Linked DNA regions of Homo sapiens: regions 2, 3 and 4 are each linked to region 1. The links are contacts of gene promoters, found by promoter capture Hi-C in blood cells and fetal thymus (Javierre and others, 2016). All regions are on one chromosome and are shown on one strand. Each heading gives the region's core, a stretch centred on a gene start or on the middle of the fragment in contact. The rest is flanking DNA. Distances are from core to core; before and after follow the strand shown.

Region 1 (3,961 bases), core at 1,013-3,512:
TTAATATTATAGTCCTATCCACCATTCGTTGCCTGGGTTTCAAATCCAAATAAGCATGGTGGTTGCTATAGTGACAATATGCCACTTTTGGAACCTGGAGCTTAGTACTACTAGGTACTTATGAGCTTCATAACGTCAGTACTTCCTCCCACACTCTGAATCATAGCTCAGATTTTATAACTTCACAAAATGTAATTCCATTCTGTCCTATATGAGTCAATTTTATTTTAGCAGTATAGAATATATGTCAAAAGAATCTAACTCACTTAACATGCTAAATATACATACTCAATATACATTTAATTAATAGTAAATATATTGGCCTGATAAGATAAATTTTGTGCAACCATTGGAATTCACTGATTTATTATTGAAACTGGGCAAGATTCACAGCTAATTCTTTAGCTTACAGTTGTTAAAATAGGATTCCTACCACACTTCATTTAAGAAGAAAGTTTGAAATTCTAAAATAATGAATTTCATTTATGGCAGACTGACATATTTTCATTTTACTCAGGAACCATTCCTAATAATTAAAGACTAATTATTAATGATCTCCAAGATGGTAGCTTGTTGCTAGCAAAATGCTAAGAAAAAAATATCAATCTCAAATTACAGTGCATTTCTAGAATATTAAAAAAAAAAAAGTCAGAGAACTGGAAACCCTCATACATGGCTGGTGGGAATGAAAAATGATGCAGCCACTTTGGAAAAAGTTTCCGTTTCTCAAAAAGTTATACATAGAACTACCCTACGACCCATCACTTTCATTCCTAGGTATCTACCCAAGACAAATTAAAACATACGTCCACATAAAGACTTGCACATGAATGTTCACAGCATTATTCATAACTCGAAACGACCTAAATGTCTGTAAACTGGTAAATGGGTAGTGTTTCATCCTGCCGAACCCACGACTGGGGTCGCCCTCTAAGAGTTCATTAAAATTAATAAGGTATAATTACCTAAAACTCTTGTAAACAGGGGCTCGAATAAGTAACCTATCACAATTGATAAACCACACCATGTTGTTGGCAACCTGATATGTGCAAGGCATTAAACGGAGAGCTTTGCCCTCAAAGGGTTAAGAACATCTAGAATGGGGGTCTCCTCTTTCGTCTTGGGAGCCCCCTCCGTCTGTCTCTGTAGTGGGGAGCTTCTTCCTTCAGCCTTCTTCCTTCTTTCTTGCCTATTAAATTCTCCGCTCCTTAAAACCAAAAAAAAAAAAAAAAGTCCAAAAAGTCTTGGTGTTTACCACAAAAGAACGATGCTATTCCAACATCACAGCCTCCCTAAAGCAACTCTCAATTATTACATAAAGAGGCAGCCTCCCTAAAGCAACCCTCGATTATTACATAAAGTCACTTAATCTTTTCTGACTTCACCACTCTTTGCAACCAGAGTTTACTTTGCAGTAGGCTGTGGTGAAGTTAGGGACATGGTTTGGAAAATCTAAGTTAGGGATACCAGGCAAAAAAAGAAGAAGAAGAAAGAAAAAAAATCAAAGCTCTGTCATTACTGTGAACTTTTCAACGAGAGCCTTAAATCTCAGCACAGGGAAAAGAGACCCTTCCTCAAGCCCTGGAGAAGAGGCTGGTCACAACCTGCGGATCTCAGATCCCTTTGCCAATTTTTTTCTCTCCCTCTGAATCCAAAGGGTGACGCTGTCCTCACTGCTTCCCCACACACCAGCGAGTGCGCGGAAGTCCACCTGCGTGGTTGGACCGAGGGGGCAGGTCCATTCGCGGCCTCCGCCACGCCCCACACCGCCCCTCCCGGCACAGCCCGCCGGGGTTAGCCCGCCCGTCCGCCAGCTCCCTCTCAGCGGCGCAATCTCAGGAATTCTTAACCCTACTCTGGGCAGGTGGGATGGCTGAGAAAGACCCTGCATGCCGCCACTTTGGCTCAGGGTCCTCAGCCCAAACTGAGAAACGTTTTACAAAGAAGCGTGACGACCTTTCGCACTAAACCAGAGTACCGCCACCTCCATCGACCGAGCGCCAAAATTAACCGACTTACAGATGTGACTGGGCGCAGCGGCCACCGTAAGGCGTAAGGGGTGCCAAGTGCCGGTTCCAGTCCCGCCCAGCCCCGCCCCGCCCCGCCCCGCCCAGCCCCGCCCCGCCCCGCGGCCTGCGTGCGTCAGAGATCACGTGCCGCGCCTCCCGTCCCTACAGGCAATCGGGCGCTCCCCTCTTCCGGAAGTCGCGCCGGTGCGCGCCGGACTCCTCCCACCAGCGGCGACGTCAAACTCAGCTCCTACCACTTCTCTGTCTCTGCCGACCGGCGCAGGGAGGGCTGCCTTTTCCTTACAGTACGCCTTGAGGCTTCCGGGCCGCTGAAGTTTACGAGCGAGGGCAGTGCAGTTACTCAGTGTGCCGGCCTCGGACGCACGTGAGTAGAGTTTGAGAAGACAGAGGCTGGCTCCCGGCAGGCCACGCCCGCAGAGGCCTTTCCCCCTCTCCACAACTTGTGTTCTACTTGGTTCCGCCGAGACCCACGACGGTTCCGCCCCCTTCTTCCTAGTCATTGATGTTGTTGTTCTTGTCAGTGCCGCAGCCCCGACCGCCGGGAGCTCGAACCCGAGCCGGGGCCGCCCGGGTGGCGCGGTGGCGGCGGCTGCGGCTGCAGCAGCTGCGACGGCTGCGGGGGCTGCTCCGGGTACTGCGGGGGCGGCCGGGAGCCGGCAGCCGGCGGCGGGGCCGGATGGCTCTGTGCGGGCAGGCGGCGGGCGCTGCGTCGCTGCCCAGCGAGCTGATCGTGCACATCTTCTCTTTTCTGCCGGCGCCCGACCGGCTGCGGGCCTCGGCCTCCTGCTCGCACTGGCGTGAGTGCCTCTTCTATCCGGCCCTGTGGCCCCAGCTCCGCATCTGCCTCCGCGTCTCGCCCGCGGAGCAGCCTCGGCTGGAATTCCTCATGCGCAAGTGCGGCTGGTTCGTGCGAGAGCTGCGTGTTGAATTCGCCGCCGAGAACTATCTGAGCGGCGGTGGCCCAGGGGACGGAGGTGGCGCGGACACCGGGACTGGAGGGGAGGAAGTCGAGGCCCTGCAGCTCTCAGCTCGTTGGCTGGAAGTGCTGCGCACCTACTTGGAGCTGGTGCTTTGCGTGCTGGTCAGCATCCGGAACAACAGGTAGGCTTGCCCTGAGCCCCGCCCCGCCCGGTAACGGGGGGTCGCTCCGTCCCCGCACCCCGACACAGATTCTGTGCATAATACGTGCCCGGCCAACTTCAGTGTTGCCTTCCTCAGTGACGGAGAGTGTTGGTTCTAACTAGGCGGTTTCCTTGAGCGGAAAGGCATAACGGGACTCATCACGATACTTTATAAACAGTGGTGGACGGGGTGTTTAACAGACACCACTTCTGGCGCCTTCCAGGCACTCATTCATCCTCTTGGTGGCCGTGGGATGGAGCTGACAGGCGCTGTCACTTTTCATTTTATATATGGGAGCGTTAAGACTGGGAGGGTGAGGCCTGTGGGTGAGCCTTGGAAGAAACAAAACATACACATAACACGATTTTCTGACTCTGAATCTGTTAGAAATAGTTCATGGTGAGGGAAGGAGTAGGTACTCATAGGACGCTGCCTAAAAGAAATTTTGTAACAGCCATTTTCTTACCAGAAATAGTTTCGGCTAACTGAACAAGGCCCGAAGAGGAGGAGGAGTGTTTGTTAAAGGGATTGGGGAAGAAGTTGATCTTCAGGGTTGAAAGTCCCTCCCCATACACCACCACACTCAACTTCTCCCCAGTAGTTCACCTAAAAGTAACAGTCGGGCGGAGGAGGCGGGCGGGCAGCGAGGGAGTTGGCCAGGGTCTGCAGAGGGTAAGCACATAACTGTTCTGGTTTTGCATCAGGACTTCACTGTAATTCCAGAACTAACGCCTTATATTCTGACCCAGTATCCCTCCCAATCATCATTTTTCTCCATCGCCACCTCCAAAACCCTATTAATTTAGATC
Region 2 (3,961 bases), core at 951-3,450, about 49 Mb before region 1:
AAAAGGCAATATTCACAAAGATGATGAGCTTTCTAGAACTGATGAAGGAATCTTGAGGATGGATGAAGAATCCTCATGCATCTTCAATCCTCATGAAATCTGCAGATTTATGAAGCTTAGAAAATCCCAAATAGGATTAAAAACACAAAAATGGAAACCTATACTTAGACACATTGCAATAAAATTGCAGTTCACCAAAGACTAAGGAAAAAAGAGCCAGAGAGGAAAGATGGACTACCTATGAAGGATGGAATTTAGACGGACAAAAGACTTCTCAACAGCGATAACAGACAGCAGAAGATTAAAAGTTCCAAATTGCTAAGAAAATATATGTCATCCTATAATTATATACTCAACAGAACTAAATTTCAAGGACCAGAGCAAGAATTAGGACATTTTCAGGTAAACTACCACTCAGAACATTTACATCCAAAATCCCCACTAAAGAAACTTCTAAAGGATATAACTGAAGTAGGAAAAGGACACTAGGGTAATGTCTGCGATGCAGGAAGATTGAATCAGCCCCCGCGGATGGGACTCTGATGCACACACAACACGTCCAACACCAGGCTCATGTGTCTTGGGAAGAACACCTGAACCATGAAAACATCCTCCCCTTAAGACCAGGACCGAGAAAGTCGGGTAATGGGCAGCATGTGCCTCTTCCTCCTTTGTCCGTGTTACTCAATAGATAGTCATCATTTTCTTTAAAAATGGTATGACAGATTAAATGAAAAAATGATTTTTAGAAAGGTTTATAAAGTTTTCAATGGAATACATTTCTCTAGCTGTAAAAGCATTTCCTGCCTTGACTTAACCACAAGACAGGATGGGTTGATGAAGCAGAGGCCCTCTTCTTTGTAGTGACGCAGAGGCAGTACAGGCTTGTGGTTAAGAGCGTGGGCTCTGGAGACAATTCGAATGCCTCTCAACAGCACTCTGGGCCCATTGGTGTTTCTTCACCTCTCTAAGTTCCAGTTTTCACATGTGTAAGTTAGTACCCAGTTTCTAAGATTGTTGTGAGGGTTAAATGAAACGACATATGAAGCAAAGTTCCTAGCACATGGGAGGCATTCACTGTACGTTAGCTGGTAATATTGTTTTAATGACATTGGTAGTCTGCACCAATCTTTGTGCTGTCCCCTACATTTTCTGAAAAGAAATCATCTTTAGTCATCTAGCCACAGCATAGCAGAAAAGCTGGAGGTGCTCAGAGTGTAATTTATATGGTAACACTTCACGTATAATACTAGGCTCTGCAGATAATAGTTGTTCATTTAATTTGGGTGGATCTGAGATTTTAGTGGAATACTGTATATAATTCCTATTACAGTATTCACATATCTTTTCAGATATTATTTTGCCTCCTTTAATCAAATTTTGAGAAAATTGTTTTTAGAACAAGCACTGAGAAATTTTGGTGAGTTTTTAATTTTTTAATTTTTACCAGATGTCAAAAAAGACAATCTACAGTATATTAAAGTATATCTATTCTTGAACAGATCTAAAAATAGTACAAATCATTGATGACGATGACCAAAAGTACAATATTTTCCTACAGTGTTATAGAAAATGCTTGCTTTCATCTATCAGTTTAATAGTTACTTATTAAGACTCTACTATATATTTCAGGCACTGTGGTAGTCACTTATTAACTAATAATTATTACTTGACATTTATTAATACTGGAAATATTCTTTCCTAATATCACATTTTTTTCTGATGGATATAAAAAGTATTTACTGGACCATTGTACAGATGAGGGATTGGTGCCAGATAGCTCTAAAGCCAGGGGCTGGTAGGCTTCTTCCTAATACTGAATGAAGTTTGCCAAAGCACTGTTTCCTGAAAAGAAAATAAAGTATGAACAACCCCCTTTTTCTATATCTATGGTTTTGCCTAATTAGTTCTAAATTTAAAGTTTGGCCCTTTACCACTGCTCAAAGTAGAGGAAACCATGTGTCTTCCTCATTTCTTTCTCTCTTATCATGCTTTGCATTACCACATTTATACAGCCTAAACCAGGAAGAATGTTGCGAACATCACTGACAATTATGCCAAAGCATGTTATCTACTTTAAAATATTATTTTATTTTTTAATCTTATACTTACCCATATTTCTTCCGGTGATGTGTTTGTTGACTGAGGAGCTTGATAAATCTGTGCCTGCATCAAGTCAAGAAGAGAAACCAACACTGCTGAGGGGACAGGAAATTGCACTCATATTTCAGCACAAACCAATGAGGAAGCAGCATCTCAATGAGAAGGGTGTGCGTTATCCAAGTTTGAACAAAAAAAGTCTCTTAAATACTTTTAAAGATGTTTTTATTTATTGTTTACTGTACTGTAATTTTTATAACTCACTTGTCTCATTGCATCTTAATTACAAGTATGTACTGATATTATATTATATGCCCTTTACTTAATGGAATATATGTTAAATATTTTATTTATTTCTTTGTTCATTCATTCATTCATTCATTCATTCACTCATCATGCCAGCAGTGTGCGGGGAGATGTATACGAACTGGCTATCAACCAAAAGCAGCTTTTTTTACCTAGTAAAGGAGAAAGACATGTTTAATAATGATTGTAATGCAATGGCAAAATGAAGAAGTACTTCAAGAGGGGTACAGATAAAATAGAATGAACCATTTGGATGTGTGAGATAGGGGAGGATATTGTAGGTAGATTCAGGGTGATAAAGTTCCTGGGACAAAAACAGAAAAGGGAGAATTGAGGCTGAGGGGTTTAATGATGGATATTGTGCTGCTTAAGGCAGGGGTTAAGGTAGCCAACCTCATACCGTCTTTCTTTTCTTTTTTTTTTTGAGAGACTAATGGGATTAGATATATAGTATTTGATTGTAGAACTATTTTCTCCTTTGATTCTCTCCTCTTGGAAACAGAGATGGCTAAAAACCAGTTGAATTAACTAGCTGAGACAAATAATTTTATGAAACTTGAAAATTTTATTTAAGACTTACATTGTTATTATAAAAACTCTTGTACTTTAGCAAGTTAAAGTTAATGCCAAATCTATAAGTGGTTTAATATGAAGTGAAATTAGCTCCTATAACTTTCTTACTATTGATATATAAAAAAGTCAGAAATATCACTTTTGAATCTTGCCCTCATAAACTTTTATTAGAAATGAAGGGAAAATATTATTTGAAAGAACAGAATTTATTTGGGATGAAAACATTTGACTTAATTTTAAAGATGTAATCAGGACATTTTGAATCTGTGTTTGTTAAAGGACATTAAGGGTTGTTGCTGGTGTTTTTTTTTTGTTGTTTTTTTCTCCCTACCCAGAGATAGAAAAGATTAGCCTGTATATAAGCAAGGCTTTCCATATTGAAGTTGATCAGGGTATATCAGGAATGTAAAGATTTTCAATACTTCCGTTGTAGGTCTTTCTTTGAGAATAATAAAACTAATACCTTACATTTATAAAGCACAGGATAGTTTATAAAGTAATTTAGCATATAGTAAATTATAAATCAATATATTGTTACTGAAATAATAAAAATTAAGTATAAAGTAAAAAATTAACAATAAATGTCTTGAAGTTTTACAAAAATGAAAAGTAACGATTTCAGTTTACTTGTGACTGTAATTCAAAGTTCTCATTTTTGCTTGGTTTCGTACATCTGCTTATCTGTGGTTTCTATACATGATATATCTTTTTTTAAGTTCGGGGTACAAGTGCATTGTTACGTAGGTATTTCATTACTCTGATGATCTCTTACTTTATCTGAATAGACTATACTTCTGCTTTTAGGGAAAGGGTATTTTCATGTCCATATCTAATATTCATGTATTTTGCTTTTCAAAAGAAAAAGATTATCATTAAGAAACATAAGAAACACAAACTTTCACTTCTGATTAAAGAGGAGAAAAAGCTGGAGCTGACCTATGCTAAAACCTTGCCAACTCTACACAATAAGAAATTTACCAGC
Region 3 (3,961 bases), core at 905-3,404, about 42 Mb before region 1:
TCACATGATCATCTCCAGCCTCAGCATGTTTACAATCTGTTTATAAGGCAAGATTGTGAGTGTTCAATAGATTCTTAGAGAAATGAAGATTAATGAGGACAGATCTGGTTGGAGAAGTGTGATCCAAGACGAAATGTGAATGAAATTGGGAAGGATGCCAGAGTTATGGCTAAGTGAAAGAAGCAAGGGCAGTTGGAGAAAGGGTAGAGGAACCCTTAGGAAGACATGATTGTGTTAATGTGAAATCTGGAAAGTAAAACGGAAGTGGCTATTTGGTCCATGCAGCAGCACCCAGAACAACCCTTAAATATAAGACGTACTCAGTAAAGACAAAACTGAAAAAAGAAGTTGGGGCTTAACTAAGCAGCAAACTTTCCCCAGTTTTAATCAAACAGATAATCACTGGCTCTTCTGTAGAAGGCAGAAGTTTCTTCCCTGGTACTTCCCCAACAGAGTAGAACTGTCAGCACAGTTCCTATTTTGTGAGTAGAATAAGTTCTAATTTTTTTTATTCTGTGAAAAGTGTAGCCATTGAAAATTTTCAATAGGCATATGAAAGCAGTGTTTAAGGAAAATTAATATGGCCATGATATGTGATTCAGGTTAAAGGGAGAATGATGTCAGTGAGTATGGCTGGAACTCAGGTGCATCATCCAGGTGAGAGAAAATGAAAGCCATTAGGGGAGTTTTCAGTGAGGAAGAGAACAGAGGTACATAATAAAATAAAACAATTTAAAAGTTACATAGTTTAAACTGATAGAACTTGATTATCAATAAGATGAAAAAGAAAGGAAAATATACCAGATTTTACTCTATGATTTATAATCAGAGGAACTCAGAGGGAACATTGTTAGTGACAGAAATGGTGATGTAGCTGAAAAGACAAGTTTTTGGAGGAGATAATTCTTTCCTTCATCTCCTCCGATGTGAATGAGAAACAGTGGTTGGTTTTTTACCATCTTCCTGAAAATAAAAGGCTGTATCTCAAAAAACAAAAAACAAAAAACAAAAAAAAAAAGGAAGGAAGACAAATGCCCAGAAGTGTTAAGACACATGGCCAGCAGAGACTTTTCCAAAGTCCTTCACTTGGCTGGACTAGGTTCTAGGCCTTAGAGCTGACTGTGGGTGGATGACAGGGAAAGCAGAATGACACGGTTTGAGAAAAGAAAGGGCAGGCACACCAAGTCACTGCTCTGCTACTCAGTTGGAACATGCCTGGATTTCGTGCTTATTACATAGAGTATTTCCGTGCCTGCGATGCAATCACTATCACCTCTACCTCCACACACGTGAACCTGGTCTCCTGACTTTAGTTAGGAAAGAAGAGAACAATGCAACTCACAAGAGGAGAAGGATGAGGACAAGTGTTTAAAATAATTTTTCAAAGCTGTTGGCACATTTTCTTTATGATTATTGTCTGGTGAACCTAGTGAAAATAAATACTGTATTGAGATAATCTGTGCCGAGCGGATTTATTTCCTTTTGTTTTGTCGGAGAAAGGAGGACAGGTACTGAGTTGCACCCTGGTTTCCGTACTTCACGGTACTGTTTTATCTAAGTTTTAAAAAACACCTCAAATTCAACTAGCTGTGGCATTTTTCTCAGTGCTCTTATCACTATGCCCAATTTAAATTTTTTAAATAAAACAGGAAAAGATGCTAAACACATTACAAGTTCTTAAAATTATTCCTTAATATTTATTTTGGGTCAATTTAAAAAGGCTTGTGAATCCATAGCCTTGAGTTAATATTTAGCCCAGGTGTTAGTTAAATTCTAACTTCAACAGTCACCCGCACTTGTAAATCTTGCCCTACGATGGACTACGTTTCCCAAGAGCACCCCCCGAGTTAATCACATGAAGCGCATTCTGGGAATTGTAGTCTCGGATGAGCCTCTTTCTCCCAGTCTTGGACTCACGCGCTGATTCCGGTTGAACCCAGGGGCTACCAATTAGCTGGGGCCATGTCCGTGAGTCGTGGTCCAACCGAGAAAGCTGGTGTGGGAGCTTCGTACAATGATTGGCCAATGAATGACCCCCGGGGCGGAGCAATGGGGGTGGGCGGGGAGACCATGGTGATTGGACCAGAAGCCCGCGACGGCGGGCGGGGATTGGCTGCGCGCTGGGTCAGGGAAGCCTGGGAAGGGGCGGAGGAAGGAGACTAGAGCAGGAAGAGCAGCGGCGAGGCGGCGGTGGTGGCTGAGTCCGTGGTGGCAGAGGCGAAGGCGACAGCTCTAGGGGTTGGCACCGGCCCCGAGAGGAGGATGCGGGTCCGGATAGGGCTGACGCTGCTGCTGTGTGCGGTGCTGCTGAGCTTGGCCTCGGCGTCCTCGGGTCAGTATCCGCCCCCTCGGGCTGAAGGCCCAGAGCCTCCGCCCCCCAGCCTCTACAGCCGGCGGGGCCGTGGGGACTCCAGGCTCGGGACCCCGTTCTCCCTGGGCACATCTCGCACTGGGCTGTCACTCGCTCTTTGGCTTTGCTTGGCCTGCGCCAAAGGGGCTATTTAGGAAGGTGGAGTGGGGTGGAAAAAGAAGGGGCGGTCACCCTGCCCACACCTCTCTCCCACGTAACAAACTTTGCGCGACTCTTCTCACGAACGCGGAATTGACTCCAAAGGAATGAATCCTGATACAGGAGCCCGAGTGGAGCTTCCTCGACCCTGGGGTAGAGGAAGGGTCTGGTCTAGAACTCTGGGCTTGGGAATTGTAAGTTAAATAATTGACAAACCTGGAGCTGTCACTTTGGGGCAGAGGAGGATCCATCCAGACCAGGATGTTGACAGTAGTTTGCTTAACACCTGAGATGGTCCCTGGTCTGTCTGTTTAAAAACGAAGACTTTTGATCTCATCGTAGCCACTTTTTACTTTTTTGAAACCTTCCTGAGAAAGCGGTGACCTGTCACAGTGTTTCTGAGTTGCCCCATGTTTGTTGACAGTCATTTTATGATGTTTGGGAAAATCTTGGTTCTTATAAGATGCGTTTTATATAGATACAGAAATTTGTGTGCTTTTGAATTGATTTTCCAGTTAGCTAATGTTTATTCTGGTTCTGCTTTTTTCCCCCTTTTTTAATGTTTTAATCTGCCTACATTTGAAAATTTCCATTTTGAGAGTGTTCATGAAAACTTCGTGTTTCTAAGTGTTGATAAATAAAAATTAGTACAGTAAAACTTTGGAATTTTAATCAGTTTCAGTTAACAGGACAGGTGTTCTGTGGCTTGACGTTTTGGGGGGACAACACGGAGTATAAATGTCAGCTTTTTCTTTTTTTAATAAATGTCAGCTTTTTTTTAACAGAAAATTTCCCAGATGGTTATCTGAATCCCCAAATTACCTGTCCTAGTTGTAAATCAATGCCATAACGTCATTCTGCTTCTAAAATAAGAGGCTTAAACCTAAATTCTATCCATGATGTGGTTTGAGATACCATTTCAAAAGCACCAACCCTATGCTAATTACTTTACTGCCAACATCATTCTTTCAGGTCCACTCCCCTCCCTCCAGTAGTAGTGATGGTTTGAGTTAATGACCAGATCTTTAGACTATACTTAACTCTCGAAGCACTTTTAGCAGTTATTTAATATTTGATCAAAAAGCATGAAATGAAGCTGTTGAGCTTAATGAGTAGAGTACCTGCTGGACCATGGACCTCCTGCATCAGAATTCCTCTTATGGGTTTGTTAAACATTGGGTTTTAGGTCTGGAACAGCTCAGGTATACATAGATTAACAATCTCCATGAGGGATTCTTCACACTAAAGAGAACTACAGTAATGAAAGAGCACGGTGTGTATCCCTCTGAATTTAATTGGCAGAGTTTAAAGAAAATTAAAGCATAGGAATTGTGCTGTCTGTCTTTGACTGCATTTTATATACTTAGAGCTCCATGCCAGTGGAAAAGATATTTGAAGATCAACAGTTGGGGCTTTCAGGATGTTGTAATAAAAGACTTAACACTGATATAT
Region 4 (3,961 bases), core at 1,022-3,521, about 42 Mb before region 1:
CAATACTTACCTAATCAAATGGCATCCATTTGAATAAAATGACAATAACTAAAGCTAGTTAATGTCAGTGACATTAAACTAACTCCAGGATTCAGGAGTTTTAATGTTAGAATTTAGATTTAACAGATAGAGTGTGGCTTCATTTGTCCATGGTAGCCCATCTCTCCTAAGACCTTTTCTAGTCTGTCTTCCTGCCTTCGAACTTGATGACAGTAAAACCCTGTTTAGTATTCTCTTGTGCATTTGGTTTGTTGGTTAGCCGACTGTCTTGAAACTATTCATTTTGCTTCTAGTTTTATTTTACAGAGGTAGCATTGGTGGGTTTTTTTTTTTTTTTCTGTCTCTGTGTTTGAAGTTTCAGTTTCTGTTTTCTAGGTAAGGCTTATTTTTGATTAGCAGTCAATGGCAAAGAAAAAGTAAATCAAAGATGACTTCTTTTCAAAATGTATTGTTTAGCACTTAACTCAGATGAATTTATAAATTATTAATCTTGATACTAAGGATTTGTTACTTTTTTGCATATTAGGTTAATTTTTACCTTACATGTGAGAGTCTTACCACTAAGCCATTCTGTCTCTGTACTGTTGGGAAGTTTTGGAAACCCCTGCCAGTGATCTGGTGATGATCTGATGATTTATTTAAAGAGCCGTTGATGCCTCCAGGAAACTTAAGTATTTTATTAATATATATATAGGAATTTTTTTTTATTTTGCTTTGTCTTTCTCTCCCTTCTTTTATCCTCATGTTCATTCTTCAAACCAGTGTTTTGGAAGTATGCATGCAGGCCTATAAATGAAAAACACAATTCTTTATGTGTATAGCATGTGTATTAATGTCTAACTACATACGCAAAAACTTCCTTTACAGAGGTTCGGACTAACATTTCACATGCACATTTCAAAACAAGATGTGTCATGAAAACAGCCCCTTTACCTGCCAAGACAAGCAGGGCTATATTTCAGTGACAGCTGATATTTGTTTTGAAAGTGAATCTCATAATATATATATGTATTACACATTATTATGACTAGAAGTATGTAAGAAATGATCAGAACAAAAGAAAATTTCTATTTTCATGCAAATATTTTTCATCAGTCATCACTCTCAAATATAAATTAAAATATAACACTCCTGAATGCCTGAGGCACGATCTGGATTTTAAATGTGTGGTATTCATTGAAAAGAAGCTCTCCACCCACTTGGTATTTCAAGAAAATTTAAAACGATCCCAAGGAAAGATGATTTGTATGTTAAAGTGACTGCACAAGTAAAAGTCCAATGTTGTGTGCATGAAAAGGATTCCTTGGTTATGTGCAGGGAATCATCTCACATGCTGTTTTTCCTATTTGGTTTGAGAAACAGGCTGACACTATTCTCTTTGATTAGAAAATAAACTCATAAAACTCATAATGTTGATATAATCAAGATGTAACCACTATAAATATGTAGAAGAGGAAGTTTTAAAAGACCTTAAGCTGGCATTGTGAAGGAACACCATGGTAGACTCTTTTTGTAAATGTATTTTGTATTTAATGAAATGCAGTATAAAGGTTGGTGAAGTGTAATATAATTGTGTAAACAAATCCTGTTAATAGAGAGATGTACAGAATCGTTTTGTACTGTATCTTGAAACTTGTGAAATAAAGATTCCACCTCTGGTTATCCTGTATGCTGTAATATACCACAACCAAGCACCTTTCCAGACAGACTTTTTTTAAGCTGAATGATTCAATTTTTTAATGTTTTTTGGAAATTCAGAAGCTTCTGAAAACATTCACTTGTGGCAATTTGAATTTATCTTTCATTTTAAACTCCTGAAATTCAGATTTTTACAAGTCCAATATTGCCCTAGGGAGAACATGAATTTGCTAAGAAATGTTATCTTTTAAATCTCTGATATCTTTGTCTTGAAGCAGCCTTGATATGTAGTAAGCGTGATTCACTTTAGCCTGATTATAATATTATTTATCTAAAGTTTGTTTATGCATTGCCTTGTCCCAGGAATTTTTTAAGAGGACTTGCAGAGACACGTACCACACAGTAACATTTAGACTAAATATGCTCTGAGTAAAGGAGAAATGAAAAAATATTAAATCAAGAGTGAACATGTACACAAAGTGCAATTGGAAGTGGGCTACAAATTTGGCCCCCAGCTTCCCAGCAGGCAACTCAAAGAGGTAACTGAGGTAAAATGTTCCAGCTCAGAAGCATTGGATCTTGGATAAAAAGCCTACATGATGCAAACTGTGGCAACTGAGATGTCAGATCTCAAGATCTCAAATTGTACTTGTGGGAGCACAGTCAGTGACCCCAGATGACCTTGACTGACCTAAAAGTTGTGGGGGAAGTCGGATGTCAGAGCCTTAACACCAGCAGGTGACCATCCAACCTGGGGCAATGCCTGCCTGTTCACCACTTAGCCTCTTTCTGGCAAGTCATTAGAATGTCCTCCATCTTCATTGGCTGCAACTTGATGAGCTACAGCCTCTTTCCTAACTTCCTTTATGATGCTAGTTTAGGTTGGTTATACCAGCTTGGAAGTATGCTTAGATTAAGTTACAGCAGATACACAAATTAGATGCAAGTAAAAAAAATCAGAATTTCTGTAGTAGAAACTACGAAAAATAAAAAGGAAAGTTTTTACTTTTTGGGTATTTTTTTACGAATAAGAAAAAGTGAGCGTTAATCAGTTCAAAAGGAGGTACTGCTGTGTAATGGGCTTTGTACGTTCCTTCTCATGTCACTTACGTCACTACTTCGCCATCAAATTGAACAAGCTTTTAATTAGATCCTGAAAATTCACTATGCTAGTAGTTTATTGGTAGTATTATATTTTGAGTAGAACTCTGATTTTCCCTAGAGGCCAAATTCTTTTTATCTGGGTTAATTTCTTTTAAACATAACAATGTTAATGCTGAATTGTATATTAAATCCCATTTCTAAAAACCACACAATTTTTTCTCATGTAAGTTGAGTGGAATGTGGTTAGTTAACTGAATTTGGAATGTTCATATAAATAATTTGTTGCTGCTCAATCCGGTTTCCCACTGCCTCCTCTCTACCGCCCAGTATAACCTCGTTAATTCACCTCTCGGACTTGGAAAGAATGTCTCATAAGTCTTGGGAGATAAGAGATTCAGGTATCCCAAGTAAGGATTCTAACTTCGAAAATGAATATGTCATTGAGTTTTACACGATTCAAGATTCAAACGTGGGCAACAGAAATCTCTGTTCTTGGAAACAGATTTATTTCAGGATGTGAAAGCCCAGCTGTGGGTTTCAGAGTTTGCACACCTGCATTTCCTCACCCTTCATCTGTGGCCATGCTCGTAGATGCTTTTCTTAGGAAAATTTGATTAATTGAACTTTTTTTGTTCTAAATGCAATCTGAAATGAGTAGAGACTAACGCTGGCTGTGCGTGCGTGTGTGAGTGCATGGTAGTGAGGGGTTGGGGAGCCTTCCAGCTGATTTTGTTTCCCTTAAGTACTAATGAAGAATTTACTTGAATTGTTCTAACCTGTACATGTATTTTCTTTGACCTATCATTTGGACAATGTTCTGTGGTTAACATCTTAAATTTTTTTTTTTTTTTTTTGAGACAGGGTCTCACTCTGTTGTCCAGGCTGAGTGCAGTGGCTTAGTTAGAGCCCACTGCAGCCTCAAAACTCCTGGGCTCAAGAAATTCTCCCACCCCAGCCTCCTGCATAGCTGGGAGTACTAGTGTGTGCCACCACGGACAGCTATTTTTTTATTTTTTGTAGAAACAGGGTCTCCCTATGTTTCCCAGGCTGGTCTCAAACTCCTGGTCTCAAGCGATCCTCCCACCTCAACCTCCCAAAGTGCTGGGATTACAGGTGTGAGCCACTGTACCCAGCCCATCTTACTTCTTTCAGTGCATGGAAATTTACTTCCAGGACCGCGAGAGCTGAGAAGAGCACGGTATTTTCCCTTTAGCCTTCT

What was found. The method cuts DNA at HindIII sites, captures the fragments that hold promoters and counts their contacts. A CHiCAGO score of 5 or more calls a contact.
Region 2: the fragment with the promoter of GPR65 here is called in contact with the fragment with the promoter of FBXO33 in region 1 in 2 of 17 cell types (total CD4 T cells and total B cells); the score reaches 5.6 in total CD4 T cells.
Region 3: the fragment with the promoter of SEL1L here is called in contact with the fragment with the promoter of FBXO33 in region 1 in 1 of 17 cell types (non-activated CD4 T cells); the score reaches 5.2 in non-activated CD4 T cells.
Region 4: a contact is called between a fragment that was not itself captured here and the fragment with the promoter of FBXO33 in region 1, in 1 of 17 cell types (activated CD4 T cells). The highest score is 7.2, in activated CD4 T cells.

Annotation. Positions count from the first base shown.
Region 1 is chr14:39,430,734-39,434,694 of GRCh38, reverse strand. It overlaps FBXO33 (F-box protein 33), which reads left to right and starts at 2,262. Exons shown (of 4, transcript NM_203301.4): 1 at 2,262-3,131. The coding sequence starts at 2,533. It overlaps LOC105370461 (a long non-coding RNA gene), which reads right to left and starts at 2,256. Exons shown (of 8, transcript XR_007064121.1): 1 at 2,176-2,256. RefSeq lists silencers at 1,664-1,833, 2,574-2,703, 3,144-3,273 and an enhancer at 2,224-2,473. The HindIII fragment of the contact is 7,836 bases long and covers 1-3,961 here.
Region 2 is chr14:88,003,374-88,007,334 of GRCh38, reverse strand. GPR65 (G protein-coupled receptor 65) reads right to left here and starts at 2,200. Exons shown (of 2, transcript NM_003608.4): 1 at 2,113-2,200. RefSeq lists enhancers at 756-815, 1,616-1,785. The HindIII fragment of the contact is 4,497 bases long and covers 118-3,961 here.
Region 3 is chr14:81,532,046-81,536,006 of GRCh38, reverse strand. SEL1L (SEL1L adaptor subunit of SYVN1 ubiquitin ligase) reads left to right here and starts at 2,154. Exons shown (of 21, transcript NM_005065.6): 1 at 2,154-2,332. The coding sequence starts at 2,263. RefSeq lists a silencer at 2,031-2,150 and an enhancer at 1,867-2,366. The HindIII fragment of the contact is 11,079 bases long and covers 1-3,961 here.
Region 4 is chr14:81,470,621-81,474,581 of GRCh38, reverse strand. It overlaps SEL1L (SEL1L adaptor subunit of SYVN1 ubiquitin ligase), which reads left to right. Exons shown (of 21, transcript NM_005065.6): 21 at 1-3,035. Among named protein-coding and RNA genes, the nearest start is that of LINC02308, 22 kb to the right of the region's middle. The HindIII fragment of the contact is 1,016 bases long and covers 1,764-2,779 here.